2 separate regions of the Homo sapiens genome follow, and region 2 is linked to region 1. Evidence: promoter capture Hi-C in 16 types of primary human blood cells and fetal thymus (Javierre and others, 2016). All regions are on one chromosome and are shown on one strand. The core of a region is centred on a gene start or on the middle of the fragment in contact, and the rest is flanking DNA. Distances in the headings are between cores, read along the strand shown. Region 1 holds the start of PIK3R4 (phosphoinositide-3-kinase regulatory subunit 4). Region 2 holds the start of TOPBP1 (DNA topoisomerase II binding protein 1).

Region 1 (3,548 bases), core at 444-2,943:
TATTCAAAGTCATGAATATCTGAAAAATAACTCTCTACAGAAAGGATCTGGGAGGGAGCAATGCCAGCAAGCTGATTTCCCATAATGGCAAGCACCTCTGTGGTCTTTAGTAAGGTTAGGATATAATACCTGTTTAAAATAAAAACAAATGAAGAAAAAAGACAAGAAACAAAGAAGCTGTGAAACACCATTATTCCATTATTTGGTCTCTTCCAAAAAGACAGATGCAGCATACTTCTCTTCCACTAACAGCACTGTACCTAGCCTTCTGGGGCAGCCTCTAAATTTCACACACATTTATCTAAAAAGACCATGTTATTTTCTCCAAGAAGACCTTGTTATTTTACCTAAAAATACCCTGCTATTGCGCATCGCCATTTCCAGGAGCTGAACTATATTTAGATAGGCCTCTTCAACTTTAAGCCAAAAATGTTAGTTTGTGTTATTTTCTCATATTTAAATTTAAAATATTAATGAGCCTTTACTATGTGTTCCGTGCTGTGCTTGGGGCTATGAGAATTACAAAGTTACCATATGACATAGTTCTTGTCCAAGAATCTGTAGTTTCTTGGAAATAAGAAAGAGACACATTAAAAGCTTAAAACTGGCCGGGCGCGGTGGCTCACGCCTGTAATCCCAGCACTTCGGGAGGCCGAGGCGGGAGGATCACGAGGTCAGGAGCTCAAGACGGGGCTGGCCAACATGGTTAAAATCCCGTCTCTACTAAAAATACAAAAATTAGCCGGGCGTGGTAGTGGGTGCCTGTAATCCCAGCTACTCGTGAGGCTGACGCAGAATTGCTTGAACCCAGGACGCAGAGGTTGCAGTGAGTGGAGATCCCGCCACCGCACTCCAGCCTGGGTGACAGAGCGAGACTCCGTCCGTCTCAAAAAATAAAAAAAAAAAAAGAAAAACTGAAAACTGAAAAGGTCAAACTAAGATCTAAAAATTCAGTTAACTCCTGGACACTTCCTGCCTAATTCCAGTGTGCCCTCTCACCCAGCTAAAAGAAGGTGCAAACTTCGCTGGTCTGCAACAAGAAACCTTGCCACAGATGTTAAAGAAAAGCAGACCAAAGTATACACTAGCTAAACGTACCCCAGGGTTCTGCTAACTCAGGTTTTGCAGGAAATAAATGCCACACATATACACACACGACCTTGAGCACACATAAACATTTACCCTAGGCCTCGGGAAAGTGTCAAAATCGTTCAGAGGCTCACAACGAGGTCATAGTAGACTACTTCGGGGACGGGACGGGAAAACGCGTCAGCAGCGGGGAAGTTGTTTCTACGAAGGGTCTTTCTTCATAGACAGGAGATGGGCTGTTGGTGGAGGGGCGCAGAAAAGTCCCGATCTTCAGGAACCCCGGTGGTCCTGGGAGGAGAACTGGGAAAGCTCTCGGGGTCTCAGCAGAGAGAAGAAGCCACGCTAAAGAGTCTCCACAAGTACCCCGGGATTTGACCCCTCCAGCCCCCTAACCTGCCCTGGGGGACATGCGTTCCCGGGCCTCGTCTTCCTCTAGCGCGGATCGCTACACCCGTCCGAGCCCTCCTCGAGGGCCTCACCACCGGGCGGGGGGAGATGGAACCCGGGAGAGAAGTGCAGACCGCCAGTCCCAAGAAAACACTACACTTCAGCTGCTGCAGCCCCAGCAAACGCCGAACTCCCGGGAAAGCAACCGGTCTGACCTCACTTCCTGTCGCCGAGCGGAAGTGACGAAAAAGAGTGAGCCTTGAGGAATTGCCAGGGTAGGAAACCGGTTGCTAGGAAACTAGGGAAGGCGTGGTCTTACTTTGGGCGAGTCTACAGGGAGAAAATGATGCTCTGACAAAGATCTATTCCCCTTCCTGCTCTTCTACCTTTCATTCACGAACGCTGAGGTTTCTGACATCCCCTAGAATCTGCTCAGACACGCCTTCACTCCCAGGACAGCAGAACAGAGTTAAGAGAACTCAAGAATATTTAGGAAAACTAATATATCCCAAGCTGGATTTTTAGAGTTCTGGTGAGATATAACTTACATACCATAAAGTTCACCTGCTTAAAATGTACAAAGCAGTAGTTTTTAATACATCTATCGAGTTGTGCAATCATCCCTATAATCTGATTTTAATTTTTTTTTTTTTTTTTTTTTTTTTTTTTTTTTTTTTTTTTTTTTTTGAGGCTGAGTCTCGTTCTGTCGCCCAGGCTGGAGTGCAGTGGAGCGATCTCGGCTTACTGCAACCTCCACCTCCCGGGTTCAAGCGATTCTCCTGCCTCAGCCTCCCGAGTAGCTGAGACTACAGGCGCCCGCCACCACGCCCGGCTAATTTTTTTGTATTTTTAGTAGAGGCGGGGTTTCACCGTGTTAGCCAGGTTGGTCTCGATCTCCTGACCTCGTGATCCGCCTGCCTCAGCCTCCCAAAGTGTTGGGATTACAGGCGTGAGCCGCCGCGCCCGGCCTTTTTTTTTTTCTTTTGGAGACAGTCTGGCTCTGTCACCCAGGCTGGAATGCAGTGGTGCCATCTCGGCTTACTGCAAACTCCACCTCCCGGGTTCAAGCGATTCTCATGCCTCTGCCTCCAGAGTAGCTGGGACCACAGGCACGTGCCACCACGCCCAGCTAGGTTTTTGTTTTTTTTTTTTTTGAGACGGAGTCTCGCTCTTGTCGCCCAGGCTGGAGTGCAGTGGCGCGATCTCGGCTCACTGCAAGCTCCGCCTCCCGGGTTCACGCCATTCTTCTGCCTCAGCCTCCCGAGTAGCTAGGACTATAGGCGCCCGCCACCGCGCCGGGCTAATTTTTTGTATTTTTTTTTTAGTAGAGACGGGGTTTCGCCGTGGTCTCGATCTCCTGACCTCGTGATCCACCCGGCCTCTCAAAGTGCTGGGATTACAGGCGTGAGCCACCGCGCCCGGCCGCTAGTTTTTGTATTGTTTGTAGAGATGGGGTTTCACCATGTTGGCCAGGATGGTCTGGATCTCCTGACCTCAAGTGATCCGCCGCCTCGACCTCCCAAAGTGCTGGGATTACAGGTATGAGCCACCGCGCCCAGCCTGCCTGATTTTAAACATTTTCATTACCCCAAAAGGAAACCCTGAAACCATTCGGAGTCACTCCCTGTTCTCCCCCATTTCTCCTCCCCCTTCCAGCCCTAGGCAATCATTAATCTACTTTCTGTTTGTATACACTTGCCTTTTCTGGACATTTTATATATAATATGTGGTCTTTGTGACTGACTTTCACTTTGGGTAATGTTTTTGAGGATTATCCCTATTGTAGCTTGTATTAGTACTTCATTTATTTGTTGTTGCAAATAATTTTGTTTACCCTTTTGTTAGTTAATAGACATTTGAGTTGTTTTACTTTTACGTTATTATGAATAATGTTCCTATGTTCATAGCATTAGTCTATAAGTCTTTGTGTTGCCATATGTTTTCATTTCTGTTGGATAGATACTGAGGAACGAAATTGTGGGCTCATATGGTAGCTCTATGTTTAACATTTGAGAAACTGCCAAACTGTTTTCCAAAGTGCAGGCACCATTTTACATTCCCATTAGCAATAT
Region 2 (3,936 bases), core at 632-3,131, 2.9 Mb after region 1:
CACAACAGTACACTAAACTTGGATAGAGACTACAGGCACTTTCCCAGGGGCTGTATAAGGTTGCTCTCTCTGCCTGCAACATTCTTCTCCAGATATCTGCAAGGCTATCTCACCTCCTTCACGTTTACTCAATATCTTTTTCTTCATAAAGCCTACCCTGATCACACCCTATTTAAGATTATAACCCCCTTCTCTTCCCACCCCAAGAAACATCCTCTGGAACCCCTTAACGTGTTTTGCTTTTTTCTCTTCCTAATTTATCATGTCTGATTAGTGTCTATGTCCTCCTGCTAGAATGTAAGCTCTGAAAGAACAGAAATCTTTGCCTGTTCTCATCACTGATAAATCCCAAGTACTAGAGAAGTGCCTATCAAATCATGAACACTTCAATAAATACTTGCTGAATGAATGAAGTTTAAAAAAATCTGCTACAAATGCTTCTCAAACTTTAATGCACACTGAAGATCTTGTTAGAAATGCAGATTCTAAGTCTGGGTTGGAGGCCAAGATTCTGCATTTCGAAGAAACTTCCAGGCCATGCTGATACTGCTGGGTTCTGTGAGAAGCAAGGATCTACATCACCCCTACTATCATCCAATTATTATACTGTACATAATAAAACATAATTTTTAACAATTAACCAAAAAATTTTCAAGTATGACCAGTACACAACTGACTCAAATTTCTACAGCACGCAAAGGACCACTCTGGCTAGGAGACAAATGAAAGCAACTTAATTTCCAAGAACTGTAGGTCAGCCATATTAAACAGCAATGTGATAATAGACTTCCAGCCCCCCGAAATACATAATGATGTACTTAGATCAATTCAAAAATATGTGATAATGATATATCTGTATTAATGTAGACTATAAAATTATTATGAAAGTGAAATATCTACTTCTAAGACATAAAGCCCAACAAATCAAAAACACTTAAAAACAAGAAAATGAATTCACGGTATTAAGATGTTTTCAACTCTTACCTCGAGAGCTTTAAAAAAACATTTGGAATTGTCTGAAGACTTTAAAAACTTCACAAAAAACGGTTCTTTGTCATTTCTGGACATTTCTGAACTGTCAAAATAAAGGAACCATTAACAAGAACAAAACCACATTAGATAAAAAGTTGCATGTTTAACCTACCTATTTTTCTGTGCAGACAAGAATGCCTAAAGACAGACATTCTGGCTCTGCCCGTGAATTCGTCAACGGCATTTCTAAGAAATCCTGGAACTTGGACAAAGCCAAGGTAAAAGATGACAACACCAATCCTTGCAAATCAGACAGCAAAATTAACCCGAATTGAATACACTGAGGAAGGCCCTGCTATGAAGGCTCTAAGCCCTTTAGGCCAATGGACATTCAATTGCACTTGTTTTAAGGATACACAGAGTGTATCTGTCCCTGCGGATACCCACGGCCTGCGAGGTACGTTCATCCCTCAGTAAACAGATTTTAAATATAAACATGGAAGCCAGTTAGCATGGTCTTGGCCCTGCATAAGGCTAGATGCTCCGGTTCCCATCTCCAGGAAAAGGCCTGGCTCTGGGATCACGGAAGCCACGTCCTCTCGGCGTCAAAGGCCCACCCGCCGGCTCCAGGGCCAGTTACCAGGACAGGAAAAGAGGGTCCTGAAGGCCACAGAAGGCATCGCGAACCCCAGTTGGGGCTGGGGAGGAGCTGTGTCCCCACTCCGCGCCTCACTTACCTCGTTGGAGCCTCGGGGTCTCCGGGCGGCGAGTCGGGGGACGCGCTGGCCGCAGGGCGGTGGCTGGGGTCGGGCGCCAGCCCGGCGCACAGCCCCCTCCCCCGACTCGGCGCCGCCCCTACCCCAAAGCAAACGCTGGAGAACCCGGAAATTGCCCAGAACGGGAACCGACTTTCGCGCCAACCGCGCGGCCGCGCTTGCCTTTTCCGGTGGAAGTGACGCCATCGGCAGCTGCAGCAGAAGAGCGGAAATGTCAAACGTGGAGGTGAGCAGTCTGTGGGCGGTGGGGCTTCAGGGAAAGCTTGGGCCGGACCCTTTGGGTTTAGGGCTTTGCTGGGCGGGCCTAGTCTCCGCTGCGAGTAGGCCCAGCGCCGTCGGTTCAAGAGGTAGGACCACAGGCCAGGAATACTCCTTTACTGTTAAAAAAGCCAGGGAAAGAAAGGATTTCCTCAATAGATATTTATTTTACACCTGTCTTATACCAGGCATGCACGGGAAAAGGTATTATCCAAAACAATTCCGTGAGGCAAATAGTGGTAGTTCCATTTTGTAGATGTAAAAACGGAGGAAGTTAAATGATGGGTTCAAGGGCACACGGCTAGTAGGTGGTAGAATTAATACTGCATCCAGGTCTTCTGACTACGGACTGGGTGGTTTCCCTCCAACACAGCAGGAATAGAATCACCGCCTAACACAGCCACAAGATGGCAAGGGAAGAAAGGATGACTTATTACACAGCTAATGCAAAGGGATCTTTGTCAAGATCTTCAATGGTCTCCCCTCCTCCTCCCCTTCAGTGGACATCGCCGTTCTCTTTCTCTGCATCTGCCTCAGTACTGGGGAGATTCTGGGACTGAACCTAAGATTCAGATGGCAGAGAGCAAAGGGAGAGGGGATAAGATGGGCCTGCAAACCTTAGTGATAACCAGCGGAAAACTGATTCGTTGTTGCTTCTTTTCATTTTATTCTTTTTTAAAAAAATTTTTTCTTATTTTATAAAATCTAGCCACTATACTAATGAGGATCATTTTATTATTCACTGCTGAGATTGAGAAAATGACTTTGGATTTACTAATGTAAAAGTATAATGCCATGTCCCTTGATTGTTTTTGTTTTTCTTTTCTTTTTAGAGCCTAAAGATAGTAATGAGCAGCTTGAGTCTTAAGTTTTTGAATACACCGATGGAAGGTGACAAAGATTCTTTGCTTGGCCAAACTTTAGTCAGACTCCTCAACCTTCTCGTAGGTTTATCTGTGCATTTCCTTGGAAAATCCAGTTAGAACCCTCTACCCTCAATATCTGATCAGGTTCCTCATCCTCTACCATCCAAGGTGATGTCTGATCACCTTGACCTATTTTCAGCAAGAAACCCCTTTACTCCTGAAGTTCCTTCTTAGTAATTTTTTATCCAGTGACCCCAAGCTTTTTGTTCCTTGGCTATAAATTCCCACTTGCCCATGGTGTATTTAGAGTTGAGCCCACTCTCTCTCTCCTAATTCAGAATCCCATTGCCATGGTTGCTATACCTATCCTGATGGTCCGGAATAAAATCTGTCTTACTGTGCTTTAATAAATATCATTAATTTTTTTTTTTTTTTTTTTTTACCAGAAATGAGTCAGAATCAATTAACACTGGGGCTCAAAGGTAAAGGCCTATTGCTGGGGGAAGGGTGAAGAAAGCCTTAAAAGCAAAAAAACAAAAATCACTAGAGGTGGGAAAAAAAAGAAACCACAGTTAATTGTTAAGGTGCAAATCTGACCTGAATCTGTAATAACAATTAATATTTCTAGGGCACTTTACAGTTAACATGGGACTCCTGCTCACACTATTCCCGTTTACTCTTTTCAGCAACCCTATAATAGATGGGTATCATTGTCTCATGTTATGGAGATGGGGAAAGTGAAGTTCAGGGACTGTGTCACTTGCCCGTGCCTTTCCTGACACACCACACTGCTCCTGGGCACGTGCTGTCTGCCCATCTCTGTGTGAAGTTCCACACCGGGGAGGGAGCCCATTCCTGGCATTTCTGGGCCAAGTAGAGACCTCACAAGAGAAGGAGATTCATAGATGCTGCTAATGAAGATGAAGAAAATGCACCCTTTAGCTTTTACCCAGCCGGAACTTGATACCAGAGGAGTGACCTGTCTTTAGAGTAAGAGTTCACCACTAGGGGGCAAGTTCTCCCATCTTGTGTCTCCAGATAAGCAGAGAGGGTCTGTCTCTAGT

What was found. Contacts are between HindIII fragments. The CHiCAGO score rates a contact against its expected background, and 5 or more counts as called.
Region 2: the fragment with the promoter of TOPBP1 here is called in contact with the fragment with the promoter of PIK3R4 in region 1 in 3 of 17 cell types (total B cells, activated CD4 T cells and naive CD8 T cells); the score reaches 7.7 in total B cells.

Annotation. Positions count from the first base shown.
Region 1 is chr3:130,745,136-130,748,683 of GRCh38, forward strand. PIK3R4 (phosphoinositide-3-kinase regulatory subunit 4) reads right to left here and starts at 1,694. Exons shown (of 20, transcript NM_014602.3): 1 at 1,183-1,694; 2 at 1-129. The coding sequence starts at 83. RefSeq lists an enhancer at 1,375-1,434 and a silencer at 2,669-2,718. The HindIII fragment of the contact is 4,673 bases long and covers 596-3,548 here.
Region 2 is chr3:133,660,060-133,663,995 of GRCh38, forward strand. It overlaps TOPBP1 (DNA topoisomerase II binding protein 1), which reads right to left and starts at 1,882. Exons shown (of 28, transcript NM_007027.4): 1 at 1,710-1,882; 2 at 985-1,075. The coding sequence starts at 1,068. LOC124909487 reads left to right here and starts at 1,167. Exons shown (of 3, transcript XM_047449438.1): 1 at 1,167-1,287; 2 at 1,454-1,974; 3 at 2,840-3,279. The coding sequence starts at 1,167. The coding sequence ends at 2,989. It also overlaps a transcript of TF not described here. RefSeq lists a silencer at 1,669-1,838 and an enhancer at 2,239-2,308. The HindIII fragment of the contact is 9,162 bases long and covers 1-2,008 here.